Regions from separate parts of the Homo sapiens genome. Here all the other regions are linked to region 1. Evidence: promoter capture Hi-C in 16 types of primary human blood cells and fetal thymus (Javierre and others, 2016). All regions are on one chromosome and are shown on one strand. Each heading gives the region's core, a stretch centred on a gene start or on the middle of the fragment in contact. The rest is flanking DNA. Distances are from core to core; before and after follow the strand shown.

What was found. Contacts are between HindIII fragments. The CHiCAGO score rates a contact against its expected background, and 5 or more counts as called.
Region 2: a fragment that was not itself captured here is called in contact with the fragment with the promoter of HNRNPA2B1 in region 1 in 1 of 17 cell types (neutrophils); the score reaches 6.0 in neutrophils.
Region 3: a fragment that was not itself captured here is called in contact with the fragment with the promoter of HNRNPA2B1 in region 1 in 1 of 17 cell types (neutrophils); the score reaches 6.5 in neutrophils.
Region 4: a contact is called between the fragment with the promoter of HIBADH here and the fragment with the promoter of HNRNPA2B1 in region 1, in 1 of 17 cell types (neutrophils). The highest score is 5.9, in neutrophils.
Region 5: a fragment that was not itself captured here is called in contact with the fragment with the promoter of HNRNPA2B1 in region 1 in 1 of 17 cell types (neutrophils); the score reaches 7.2 in neutrophils.

What each region holds. Positions count from the first base shown.
Region 1 is chr7:26,199,296-26,201,995 of GRCh38, forward strand. HNRNPA2B1 (heterogeneous nuclear ribonucleoprotein A2/B1) reads right to left here and starts at 1,451. Exons shown (of 11, transcript NM_002137.4): 1 at 1,277-1,451. The coding sequence starts at 1,282. It overlaps CBX3 (chromobox 3), which reads left to right and starts at 2,450. Exons shown (of 6, transcript NM_016587.4): 1 at 2,450-2,531. RefSeq lists enhancers at 1-866, 775-894, 867-1,839, 1,005-1,394 and a silencer at 2,335-2,700. The HindIII fragment of the contact is 8,290 bases long and covers 1-2,700 here.
Region 2 is chr7:28,170,848-28,173,547 of GRCh38, forward strand. All of the region lies in intron 1 of JAZF1 (JAZF zinc finger 1), which reads right to left. Among named protein-coding and RNA genes, the nearest start is that of JAZF1-AS1, 8.3 kb to the right of the region's middle. The HindIII fragment of the contact is 5,027 bases long and covers 1-2,700 here.
Region 3 is chr7:28,060,287-28,062,986 of GRCh38, forward strand. All of the region lies in intron 1 of JAZF1 (JAZF zinc finger 1), which reads right to left. LOC105375208 (a long non-coding RNA gene) reads left to right here. Exons shown (of 4, transcript XR_001744910.3): 4 at 1,635-1,928. Among named protein-coding and RNA genes, the nearest start is that of JAZF1-AS1, 120 kb to the right of the region's middle. The HindIII fragment of the contact is 2,901 bases long and covers 1-2,700 here.
Region 4 is chr7:27,661,444-27,664,143 of GRCh38, forward strand. HIBADH (3-hydroxyisobutyrate dehydrogenase) reads right to left here and starts at 1,440. Exons shown (of 8, transcript NM_152740.4): 1 at 1,255-1,440. The coding sequence starts at 1,345. The region is part of intron 2 of LOC105375211 (a long non-coding RNA gene); the gene reads left to right. RefSeq lists an enhancer at 1,177-1,994 and a silencer at 1,210-1,629. The HindIII fragment of the contact is 13,796 bases long and covers 1-2,700 here.
Region 5 is chr7:27,749,969-27,752,668 of GRCh38, forward strand. All of the region lies in intron 2 of TAX1BP1 (Tax1 binding protein 1), which reads left to right. Among named protein-coding and RNA genes, the nearest start is that of TAX1BP1-AS1, 11 kb to the left of the region's middle. The HindIII fragment of the contact is 1,532 bases long and covers 566-2,097 here.

The DNA of each region.
Region 1 (2,700 bases), core at 201-2,700:
TGAGACCTTATGCTTATCAATGTAATGTTCAACCAAGATTGCAAACAAAATGAGAAAAGTAACAAAGTTCAAATACAGAGCGGCCCAGGCCCAAAACAGTTTTGCACATCAATCCATACGCATTACAGGAAGGAGCCTCTGAAGCCATGTTTTAATCGAAGTATAACTAAGGACAAAATCGTTATTTCACTTTCCTCGTAATCATCTATAAAGGTCCATGGATCTGTCCCGTAAGGGTTAAACTTCTCAGTAACAACATTACTTAAAATGAGTCAGCTCTACAACTTAAACGGAATCCTTAAGAACAGTAAAGGATTCTGACGCGAATATCCCTCCCCCGCCCAGAAAACCACCTTCGTCCCTGCCCCTCGTGGCCGATGGCTTCCAATTTATGTTTATTTTGCCGCGGTTCATCTGTCGTTTTACTGACTGCAGACCCAGATAAAACCGTTACTCAAAGGAAAAAAAAGACAGGAAAAACATAAAATGGTTTCTTTGTCCTACGGCTCGCATTGAACCCGGCCCGACGCCCTGGGTGGTGATATCTTCTCTGAAACCGGGCCCGCAAACCCGGAGCACCCCCCCTCCCCGCTCTTCGGTGTGGCTTCCGAACGCAATGGCGCCATTTCATCGAGGGGAAGGCTGAGCGCCTTTAATGAGGTGCGCAGGACTCTAAAGATCCAAGCTCACAAAACACTCCAAATCCACCTCGAAACGATATGAAAACAGCCCGAGAAGAAAAAAAAATAGTTAACCACTTCTACTTCTTGATAGAGAAAGCACACTAAGAAAATAAAAGAGTTATAAGGAAAACGCTGAGAGGAAGGCGAGCCATGAAAATGGCGGCCGCCAAATCCGGTTCCCGGGAGAGAGGGGGAGGGGAAGCTCCGCAGCCTCGCTCACGAGGACCTGCTGCCCGCCGAAACGCTCGCCGAGGAGACGCCGTGGCCCCCGAAGCAGCGTGCTTTAGAAAGGGAATAAGAATTCCCGCCTCCGCGCCCCACTTTCACCCCAGCGGGGCAGCGTCCGCCATGTGAAAGCTCCCCATCCCCCACCCCCAGTGAAGGGAAATGGCGCCGGGAGGCTGAGGGTGGGGAAGCTGTTTGTACGCTCAGGCCTCCGCTCAAGACCCCGTTCATAAACCTTAAGCCCCACTGCTACTGAATTGGTCCGATTTCCTGCCTCTCTCCCACGGAGGCGGCTGGCCGACTTCCACTGAGGCGCCAACGGCCTCGCCATGCCCTTTTCAATAACTCATTGATTTCAAACCCGTTACCTCCATCGCGGACTCAGTCGCTTCAGCCCGATTTCCCGCAGCCGAGCGAGATGAGAGAGATCTCCGCGGACGAACACGAACCGGACTCGTCCTGGCGCTGTAGTGAGAACTGCCGCTGCTCGAGAAACAACTCTGCGAGGAGCACCTCCGCACGGGACCCGGCGCTGCTGCTACTGCCGCTAGAGCCGCTGCCGCCGCTTTTCTAGAACCTTCCCCCCCACTAACGCGTCTTCCGCTACGTCAGGCCGTCGCGTAAACGCCCTATCCGCCGCCAATGGCGGGAAGGCTCTACGCCCCACCTTACGCCAAATGCGTACTCCTCCCACCCTTGCGGCCAGAGACAGTACCCGACGTTACTTCCGTAAATGCGCTCAATGAATTGCGGAAGGCTAGAGTCCTGCTAGTTACTACCTCTTGGAATAGGGTCCCGCCCCCTGCCTTGGCGCAAGGCAGGTGAGAAACGGTCGCGCAGTTTGAAATTAACGCCGACGGGAGGGGCTTAATCCGCAGCCTGGAGATCCAGCCCCCTCAACCCGGGAGGTGGTCCCTGCAGTTACGCCAATGATAACCCCCGCCAGAAAAATCTTAGTAGCCTTCCCTTTTTGTTTTCCGTGCCCCAACTCGGCGGATTGACTCGGCCCCTTCCGGAAACACCCGAATCAACTTCTAGTCAAATTATTGTTCACGCCGCAATGACCCACCCCTGGCCCGCGTCTGTGGAACTGACCCCTGGTGTACAGGAGAGTTCGCTGCTGAAAGTGGTCCCAAAGGGGTACTAGTTTTTAAGCTCCCAACTCCCCCTCCCCCAGCGTCTGGAGGATTCCACACCCTCGCACCGCAGGGGCGAGGAAGTGGGCGGAGTCCGGTTTTGGCGCCAGCCGCTGAGGCTGCCAAGCAGAAAAGCCACCGCTGAGGAGACTCCGGTCACTGTCCTCGCCCCGCCTCCCCCTTCCCTCCCCTTGGGGACCACCGGGCGCCACGCCGCGAACGGTAAGTGCCGCGGTCGTCGGCGCCTCCGCCCTCCCCCTAGGGCCCCAATTCCCAGCGGGCGCGGCGCGCGGCCCCTCCCCCCGCCGGGCGCGCGCCCGCTGCCCCGCCCTTCGTGGCCGCCCGGCGTGGGCGGTGCCACCCCTCCCCCCGGCGGCCCCGCGCGCAGCTCCCGGCTCCCTCCCCCTTCGGATGTGGCTTGAGCTGTAGGCGCGGAGGGCCGGAGACGCTGCAGACCCGCGACCCGGAGCAGCTCGGAGGCGGTGAAGTCGGTGGCTTTCCTTCTCTCTAGCTCTCGCTCGCTGGTGGTGCTTCAGATGCCACACGCGTCCCGGGGGCCCGGTTCTCCGCTCCCCTCCCCTCCCCTTCTCGCCGGACCCCGCGCCGGGAGCTGCGGGAAGGAGTGGAGGGTCGGGCGGTGGCCTCGCGGCTGGCCT
Region 2 (2,700 bases), core at 40-2,539, 2.0 Mb after region 1:
GGCAGCAAAGCCGGCCCTGGCTACCCCGGGCATTTTCCTGGCTGTTCTTTGCTCTGTGTCCTGGCTTCCTCCTGCGTCGCATGGGACTAACACTGCATAATGCATATTAAAGCAACTAGCCAGTAGGTACTGTGAAAGGAAAATCAATCTCGGGATCCCCCCAAATAATAAATAATAGTATTACTATCTCATATAAATAAGACTGTAAGAGCTGCCCAAGTTTGAAAAGCTCAAGTTAGTGAGATCAGGAGGATTCAAAATCCAATTCTGTATAGCTTCACAGTCCATGCTTCTCACCACCCAGGCCTCTGCCTCCTGTGTACCAAATACCCCTGGCAATTTAACAAGGAAAATCAATTTCCTTTTTAAATCAGCTTTAAAAAGAGTCTCTTTCAGATTCCCTTAATATAAACCATACTGGACTAATTGCATAATGGATATTTGTGTGAATGCCATAAACACATAAACATATAAATATACAGCCCTCATTGATGCAAACCTACAGAAATTAATTTCAAAGATGTTTTTCACTGTCCAAAGTTACCTTTGTAATTTATTTTTTTCACAGCCCAAAGTACTTCTCAATTTTTATTTTCATACCATTTCTGAAAACACGTCTTGGGGACGAGGATAGGATGATGACAAGACCCTGAGTTTCTGGGGGAGGAAACAGTGCACAGGAGGTGACCACACAGTTCAGAGCACACCCCCGCTGGTGCAGCTGTGGGCAGGGGCTACAGGACAGAGAGGGGAAGACCCATTAAAATAATGATATTTATTGAGGTAAAAGAGGCTTTCTGTCCTGAAGAAAAATATTTCTGTTTTATACCAATATAAACAAACACTCTAGTTCATATTTCACTAAGTGTGTTATTTAACTAATATGGTAGCATATTTAACTCCAAAGCGGAAGGCAGTACTTACAGGATGGGGGTAATGTCTACTTCACAGGCTTGCTGTGAGGGCCAATGAAATACTATACAAAAATTATTTAGCACTGTCTGTGGCACATATAGTAATGATTCCCGAATTGGGAGCTCAAGGAATAGACCCAAGTTTTGTGGGCCTGCAGATTCAGACTTTTCTTATGAAAAAAAATTGAATGTTATAAAATGTTTACAAAAGTGATTATCTATTGAGATTAAGAAATCACAACAAATCACAAAATTTTACAAGCCGCAATACCAAAACATCCTAAAATCAGAATCCAGGAAAAGAACCCAGTATGTGTATTAATTAACTTCCTGACACACTGCTATAAATACTTCTTTTGGGCTGTATACTCTGATGAATCCTCATATCACAATGACTTATATTCATATCATTTTCCACAGGGCAGAAAGATGAATCAATCTCCCCTCAAGCATGGGTGATCAAAATTTATTCCTAATTATTGACAATTCAGAAAAGTTACTTTTAGCCTTATAGTTCTTTATTGGCAATGACATATACATTTTTAGGATTGTTGTCAAACCTGTAATCACATCTCTTAATTTTCTTTCACATATGAGCCATAAAAATCCAGGACATTTCAAGTTTTCTCGTGCAATGACTAACTTTAAATATTCTTTTTATCAATGATACTCATTAACCAGTTTGTTGTCAGTATTTTTGGTATCAGGCATATTCATGTCAAATGAACAAGAATCTTAAACACAGAATTCCCATTAAAAATGGTGCATTTCTAATAGTATATTTGTATTATTGAGTATATTCCTAAAAGAAGAGAATTTTCATACTGACTACACTTAGATAAGAACTGAATCCTCCACGTAGAATTTTACACATCTAACAAGTGAAAGAATTCTCCACAGACCTGGCTCCACGCACCATAAACCATCCCACAGCAGATGTCATGGTACCCGTTAACACTGCAATTCTCTCTCTGACCCTCCCCTTTGTGTAAGGACCCCAGGTAAGCTGGCACGGTGGGTGGCGATCCTATGAAGCAACTTCTACACTAGGATGGCTAGGGATAACTTGACACAGAGATGACTGTGAACTGCATAAATACATCCCACTAAACCCAAACAAAATGTGGACCCAATTCGACTTCCCCCTAGCTATATCTCAAAAGCACTTTCAAGTCCAATGTCATCAAACCCAAACAGAAATGTGACAGCAGGGAAGTCAGAATGAGAAAGAAAAACATTAAAGGATTGCTTAAAATCTTCTTCCAATTTTACCAGTTATGATCCCATGAAGGCCCAGCTACGTATACTGCTAGGGCTCCTCCAGGGCCCTGGAAAGTGCTGGGTGGGCCCTGGCAATATATTCAAAAACGGCAAGGAATGCGTTGTACAAGTCAGGGGCCCTGGGGCTGGAGCTTCATTAGCTTCACAATAAATCTGCCTCTGTGGTCCCTATTATTATTCATTATTTATCTCAGTCTGTACATGTCTGGTCTCTCCAAATAAATTTCAAATCCTTAGAGATAGGAAGTACTGTCTTAAGCACTAACATAGGAAATACTCAAAAATGTGTGGCTGTCCTCACTATCCATGGTGATCTTGAAAGAGAGGGAAAAAATGTATAATACAAATGTATACATATACACACATAAATATATACACACATATGGATATACGTACACACATATATGTGGTATGTGTATTAGACATATACATGTATTATTTATATATGTGTTAGATATCCTACATGCCTTTGTGCCTAAAATATATATTTATTTCTATATATCAA
Region 3 (2,700 bases), core at 48-2,547, 1.9 Mb after region 1:
GTCTGATAAATTCAGTACCTGAAGTCTTTGCAGGTTGATTCTGCTGACTCTTGTTCATAATGATTTATTTTTTGTGTGTGTTTTGAGATTTTTGAATGGGAGCTAATGTATTTTAGGAATTCTGTAACGATTCTTTATGGTCAAATAAAGAATTCCTTCACAAAGAATCTGCATTTGCTTCTGCTAGCTGACAAGAGCAACTACCAACCTGGTACCATTTTAATTAGATTCTAAGCTGAATGTTTTTCTGACCATTCAGCTAGTGTGAATTTCAGCTGTAAATCCACAAGCTGTTCTGTGGTTACAGATTTTCTGAGGAGATTTATTTTTTGCTCCTCCACATAGCTCTAAGGTTCAAGACAGAAAATTTTCCTTGGAGGAGTCTCAGGTTTTTTTCTAGCTTGCCATTACCAAGAGAATATAGCTTAGAGGTACCAGTTCCATGGTGGGAGGAGCCTTTGCTAATTATACAGTTCAACTTGGGTGGGCCTAGAGTTTTCCTTCTGTGGCTCTGGAGGTTGTAAAAACCTAAGAGCAAGTTCAGGGTGAAAGTCCAGAGCCTCCAGAGCTCTCTCTGGGTTTCCAAATTTCACTTGGTATTTAGCATCTGAGCATTTCTTCCTGTCTTGTCACATTGGCAGTACAATTGAAAAAAATCTCTTCCACTGATCCTGCAGGCAGTATGATTTACAATGGTTCAGAATGAGAGCTTTGAAACTAGTGCCTGGGTTCAAATTTCTGCACAGCACTGATTAGCCAGGCAGCCTTGGGAAGTTATTTAAACTCTGCTTTAATATTCCTACTTCTAAAATGGGAACAAGAATAGTACTTGCCTCATACATGGGTTTTTGTAAGGATCAAATGAGTTAGTGCAGTAAAGCACTTAGAATACGGCTGGCCATAGCCAGCATTCAAAAGAAAACAAGGCATTATTATTACTATTACTATTAGATTGTGGTACCATGATGAGACCTTACAATGCAGATGCTGCTTTCTACTCCTTAACATTCTCTCTTGTATGATCACGTTATAAAATCAAGCTCTGCAAAATGTAATTTTATATAAACATTTCTGCCAGTGCACTCATTTTTATGAAACCTCTGTTTAAGAAAGTACACAAAACACATAAATATATGCATAACAATGAATGGCAGACACACTCCGCTGAACACTCCTATTTAACTGCTCTTACCATTTAGGACCAAGAGGGAGTACAATGAAAGTAAAAAGCATTAATCAAAATAACCCAAAGAATAATTTTAATGATGCCTAATGGAGGGATTCAGCTGTTGCCATCAAGTGTAAAGGTGAGCATGTTAATAGCAAAAAGAAATGGCTTTGTTAAACGTGATTATCCCTTGCTCTTACTAAGCCTTATGAGATAGAGCTACACAAATAAGAGCCAGGAGAGTTTTCAGGCCCAGAATGGCCGTATTTACAATGGTGAAAACCCAGTATATTACAAATAATGTAAAAAGACATACACCATGCATACAATCTGAAAGAGCTGGCTTTAGTAAGACAAGTGGGTATTTCTTGATTTTAATATGTGAACATTTTTAAAGTATCAAAATCAATCTTATTATCATGAACACATTTTGCCCAGCCATGAAAATCTTTATTTTTATATTTAGGTTTGATGAATGAACAGCCATACAGAAATGTGATTGGACACAAAGGATCTGGCCTAACGGTGAAGGACGGAGTGGGGAAACCCAGCAAAACCACAGAATTTTTTACTGAGTACTTCAGTTACAAGGTAGAGCGTGAACCCTGCAAGAGAAATGAGCTCCTATTGATTTGTTTATAAATTATCACAACAAAACAAAATGCCCCTGGCTAAACTGGGATCTGGGATTTGGGGTTGTGCCAACCGTCAGGTCATCACTGTTCAACTCCAAATACACCCCTTAATAGCTGCTCTGTGATAATGGACTGGACTCGAAGCATTTCTTCCTTACTCAAAGCCTAAGATTGAGTGAGCTCAATATTAGTTAGTTAGAGTGACCTCAGTGTTAGGCCTTGTCAGTAGAGGGCGCCGCAGGGACACTGTAATGGCTCCAGAGTACTGTGTTTTGACGTTTTCTTGCTGCTGCTTCACTGTCCTTCAGCGGTGCATGTATATAGGGACATCTCTGCTCCAGTCTTGTGTGCAGAGCATGCAGTCCCTTAGTGACTACGCAGCCCTGTCCTGAGGCTGAGTAACCACCTTTCCACAGGCCTCCCACACAGACCCTGCATGCTGCATGCAGGCCTTGTGCCCACCGTGATACTCCAAGTGCCCACCGTGATACTCCAACTCTCCACCAGCCTCAGGTTGCCTGTGCCCCAAAGCCAGCAAACTTCTGTGACATCACAGGGAGCGACATCCACATCCTCTCCAAAGCAGTCTGAACCCAGCCTTGGGGAGTGGCTTCCGAGTGTGTCCTTCCTTGCGTATTTTTCTTCAGCCTTAGGGCACTTATTGAGTTTTCTTTACATCTTTATAGTTACTCTCCTATCTTAGTTTAGTAATTCCTTACACTAAACTTCCTGTTTAAATTCCTTTGTGGTTTTTGTCTCCTCGTTTGACCCAGACTGACACTGTTTAATTCTCATTTCTGAATTCATATAGTCATCTACTCTTTCCTCATCATACACCACTTACTCTATCCATTAAAAATATGCCATCTTTTCATGTATATGTCAGCTGAAATGTTG
Region 4 (2,700 bases), core at 190-2,689, 1.5 Mb after region 1:
CGGGCGTGGTGGCACATGCCTGTAATCCCAGCTACTCGGGAGGCTGAGGTGGGAGGATCACCTGAGCCCAGGAGGTCGAGACTGCAGTGAGCAGTGTGACTGGGCCACTGCACTCCAGCCTGGGCGACAGAGACCCTGTCTCAAAAAAAAAAAAAAAAAAAAAAAAGGGCGGGGGGCCAAGGGGCTCAAATCCTAACCCACTATTTTTTTTTTAAGCAAAGATTAGAAAAAATTAATGCCAAGGTTTTTTTTGTTATTAATCCTCAGTATGATCTTGCTAAACGATGCATTGTTACAACTCTCAAACTTTCAGTTTGAGGAAGACAACGGCAGTGCCCCCACAAATCAACCAATTTTTCAATTAAAGAGGAGTCCTGGTGTGATAGAAAGTTAAGGAATTAGGAACAACTGATAACAACTTTCTAGGTCTTGCTGGGAATATCCTGATTCACTCATCCAAGGGGCCTCATGTCCCTCGTGCGGAGTATGAAAGACTGTATTAGATCTCCGTGGATCTTCATCCTGGCTCTAAAAACTGCCTCTTTGTAAGTTCATGGCTAGCTTCCACAATTTACCATGGTATGAGAGGAGGGAGGCAGGATTAATTCTGCCCACAATCTTGAGGACGCTGAACGTGTTTTGGTTCATAATTTGACAAAAATGACATTTTTTTAGGTTACAGTAGAGGGGGGAAGCCCGTCTTGCTGGTCAAGGGTGACTGAAACTTTGCTGAAAGACTTACTGCCTGGCTTGTACAGCCACCGCTTGTGTAATAAGGCCATCCCCTCGGACTCAGGTGGTTAAACATCAGGCCCTGCTGCCCAAGTGTGTCCCCAACCCAAGGTGCACCCTGGGGGCGCTGAAAGACCAGGGGTCGCTGGGGTGAGTGCGGGTTGCTCCTGGAGTTGGGCGCTCCAAACGTCCTCGGAGTCCTAACTCCAAAGCAGCATGCCGGGGTCCCAAATACTCTCTTCTCTTCAGCCCAAGCTCTTCCCCACCTCTTCCTAAATCCCGAAAAGGGCGCTGAACCCGTTCATCAGGAGCCCGGGAGAAAGGGAGGGAAGGCAGAGGGGGGTACTCGCGGAGTGAGTGGCGGCCGCAGAAAAGGACAGGCCTTTAGTACCAGCCAAAATATTGTTTTTTAAGCCCCAGCCCAACCGCAGGGCCTCCCGAGAAAAGACTTCTTCGGCCGTCTGGACAGAAGAAGCGAGCGGCCGAAAGAAGGACAAGGGGGAGGAGGCGTGAGGTCCTTACCCGCTGCAAAGCTGCCGGCTGCCGGCCGCAGCCGCCGGCTCCAGTACCGGAGACCGGAGGCAGCTCCGAGGAGCCGTAAGGAGGCTGCCATGCTGCGCCCGCCCCTCTCCCCGCGGTGACCTCCGCCGCCTCCCGGAGGGCCCACAGACTGCGAGCGTGTGCAGCGGGACTGGCTGGCTCGCCCACGGAGAAGGGCGCGCGCGCACGCGCTCTCACCGCTCGGGGGCGGGTGCCCACGCGCGAGGGAAGGAGCGCGGAGCCGAGAGGAGCGGCCTGACGCGGCAGGGCCTGTCAATCCCTTTACGGACAGGGAAGCAGACCAATCAGAATTCCCAGGTCCGCAGCTGTGCGAAGGACCAATAAGAGGCCTTTTTGAACAGTGACGCCAGGCGCCCTGGCGCTGCCCCCAAGCTCGTGCCTCATTTACAGCCTGCGGGCGGGAGTCTCCTTGTTTACCAAAGCAGAGGGCGTGTGGGAGGCGGGGGCCGTCGCTCGCTCCCGCCTCCTCGGAAACCTTGTCCCCACAACCGCTGCGTGTTAAAAAGGACAAAACTGACTCGCAGCTTGAAAAACACTCAGAAAGCTACCATGTGTGTAATAACTTTTAAATTCATTTGATTTTACTTAACACAACAGTTTCTCAATACTAAAAATAGTAGGAAAAGAAGTTGGTAACATTATCTTTGAAGGGAAGAGTTACTAGAAACTTGCACTTTCTATTTCAAGGCATATTTCTCTAATCTTTGAAAATTCTACACCCTAAATCCATTTTGTAAGCAAAACTAAATATAAAATCCAGAAAGTAGTAGTATATGTATGTGTATTAGAAAGACCTTTTTTTTTTTTGGAGACGGAGTCTCTCTGTCACCCAGGCTGGAGTGCAGTGGCGCGATCTCGGCTCACTGCAATCTCCGCCTCCCGGGTTCAAGTGATTCTCCTGCTTCAGCCTCCGGAGTAGGTGAGGTGGGACTATAGGCCTGCGTGCGCCACCACACCCGGCTAATTTTTTTGGCACTTTGAGTAGAGGCGGGGTGTCGCCATTTTGCCTAGGCTGGTCTCAAACTCCTGGCGTCAAGTGATCCGCCCGCCTCGGCCTCCCAAAGTGCTGGTTATTACAGGCGTGAGCCACTGCGCGGTGCAGAGAGACAGACATTTAGTCATTCTTCTGTCAATGCTTAGTGTACATATTTGAGTCTGTAAACCCCTTGGGGGTAATTGCAGGCCTTCTCATCTCCACTGACTCCACCAAAGGGTTGGAAGCCATGACCACACCAAAGCAAGACTATAGCCTTTGGAGAATGGCAATACAGCAGGAAAGAGAATGTGTATGGAGTAGCTAGGGAAATGCGAACCCCAATCTAAGTAGCACAATCAACAAAATTTGACTTTGACCTTTTTTTCAACTCAGTAACCCATGGAGTTGAAAGCAAAGGAATTGGATCATTT
Region 5 (2,700 bases), core at 82-2,581, 1.6 Mb after region 1:
TTTGTAGAGACAGGGTCTCACTATGTTGCCTAGGCTGGTTTTAACTTCCTAGGCTTAAGTGATCCTCCTGTCCCAGCCTCCCAAAGTGCTGGGATTACAGGTGTGAGCCACCGCACCTGGCCTCAGTAGTAGTTTCGATTTTATGGGAGATACTGGTATCAAGTTAAAGATACTGATTGAGAACTGATGTTTTCTGTAGTAACAGAGCAGAGAGGAAGAAAACAGAAATGTGACTGAGGAAAAAGAAGGGCATTTCCAGCAGGAAAATGGTACAGGTTGAACATCCTAAATCTGAAAATCTAAAATCTGAAATGCTTTAAAATCCAAAACTTTTTGAATGCTGACATGATGTGCAAAGGAAATGCTTATTGGAACATTTTATGTTTTGGATTTGGGATGCCCAACCAGTAGGTATAATGCAAATACTCCAAAATCTGACAGATTTAGAAATCCAAAGCACTTCTGGTCTCAAGCATTTCGGATAAGGGATACTGAATCTGTATAAGCAGAGGCTTAGAGGTAGGAATGTTCATGAGAATGAGTAAGTCAGTTTAACTAGAGCATAAGCTTCAGTTAGGGAAGTTGTGGGAGATGAGATTGGAGATAAGTTTCATTCTGTCTATGGACGACCTTCAGTGTTAGAGAGTTTATGGACTTTTTTCTGAAGGACAGTGGGAAGTCTTTGTATATGTATAGGTTGTTTGAAAAAGTATGTTTCAGGAAGATGAATTATTACCTTTTTCCTGCAGACTACTTGTTTATTTCTTATATTTTTTCATTTTTTTAAAGCCAAAAGACTGTGACTTTCCCTTCAAATCCAAACAATCAGTTCTAACCATTTTACTGCTTACATATTTCTAAATCCTTAATATCACTAGTTCATGCCTTCCATATTTTTTACCAAGACTATTGCAATAGGTCAGCTGTTTTACCCACTTTCATTCTTGTCCTCTAACCTTTGTTTTTTAACTGCTCTATATAAGCTGTAAAATGGAAACCTGAACATGTCTTTCTGTTGTTTGAAACTCTTCATTGGTTCTTCATCATCTGTAGAATAATGCCAAGACCAAATAACCTAGAGCCATACAGGGCTCCTGTATAAGATTTTATTTCCAGCTTCAGTTTTGGTCATTCCTGCTGCTGCCTTTTTGCTTTGGTAATGCTAAACTATACTTCTTTCATTGTGCACTTTAAGGATTGTAAGTTTTCTCTCAGCAAAAAAGAAAAAAAAATCTTCTGTTTAATACCCTTTCCATCCTTTTTGCCAGCATAAAACTTTAAAACTCAATAGGAAGTTCAGGCATGTAGTAAAGATTTCAGGTAATACAGGAAGGCTCAAGGAAGAAAATAATCATGCTTAACACTTTTACCTACTGTTAACTATTGTTAACATATTGGTATATAGCTACATGTAATAAAATTACAAATAATTATACACATGCATAATGTGTGTATAATAAATATATACACACATACTACTGATGCATCATAGTGTGTGTATATATTCGTTGAACCAGTTTCTTACTATTGGAATTTACATTGTTGCTAAATGCTTATCATTAATACTTAATAAAGATCTCTACCTATCTTTATTTTGTCTACTTATTTCATAAGGTAAGTTCTTGGAAGTAGAATCACCATGTTTATGGCATTGTTTGTTTTTAAGCACTTTATGTGTACTGCAAATTGCCCTCTAGAGTGATTTTGATAGACACCATATTGACAAGCAGGCAGGAAGAGAGTGCCTGGGTAGCAATTGTAAGGGAGGAGGAATGAAGATGGGAAAGTAGTATGCTTGAGAAAGTGTTAAGGAATTTGATTTGCCTGGGACAGCTATCAATTAAAAATTTATTATTATTATTTTTTTAGAGACTGGGTTTTGCCATGTTGCCCGGGCTGGTCTCGAACTCCTGGGCTCAAGCGATCCACCCGCCTCAGCCTAAATAAGTGCTGGGATTGCAGGCGTGAACCACCATGCCCAGCTACAGATACCAGTTTTAGAAGATGAATGGGAAAAGTTAGTTTGGATCATGTTGTAGATTGTTTTAATATTTGAGGGATAGTTTTTAAGTAAGGAGTAATAAAGTTTAGAAGTGAAGCTTAATCTTATAGTGCTGAGTAAGATAAATTGGAATTCGAAAGGAATGGAGGTAAAGAGAACGTTTAGACTATCCTAATTTTCTATGTGAGATAATGAAAGCCTAAAGTGGAGAAGGAAGTAAGTTGTGTGTAATAATCCATAAGTAGAATTCATAGGATATGTCAACAGTCAATTGAATTAGAACTGGCACTCATTCTATGGCATCTCAGTAAGGAGGAGCAAGGTCATATGTTAAAAGTTGGGGAGGGCTTGAGTATAGATAATTGGTCTTGCTACTGTGGAATAATGTCATAGGGAATCGGAGTGGCTTAACCAGAAGATTACTAAGCAGCAATTTTATGACTTTTTCCAGAGAGATTCAGCATCTGGAGTTGTGTCAAGAGTGCCAGAAGTGGCTGTCATTCAAATTGGGTGTTGGAAAAGGGTGGGAATGGGAAGGGAAGTTAAGAGGACAAAGGATACTATGGTGGTTTTGAGTACATTATTGAAATGATTGACTGATAGTGAAGTCCAGGTTGGGTAGGGAAATGAGTGAAGCCAAACAAGGGATATAGACTGGGTTGGAGGTTTTTGTTCCTTTTAGTTTTTTCACTCCCTCT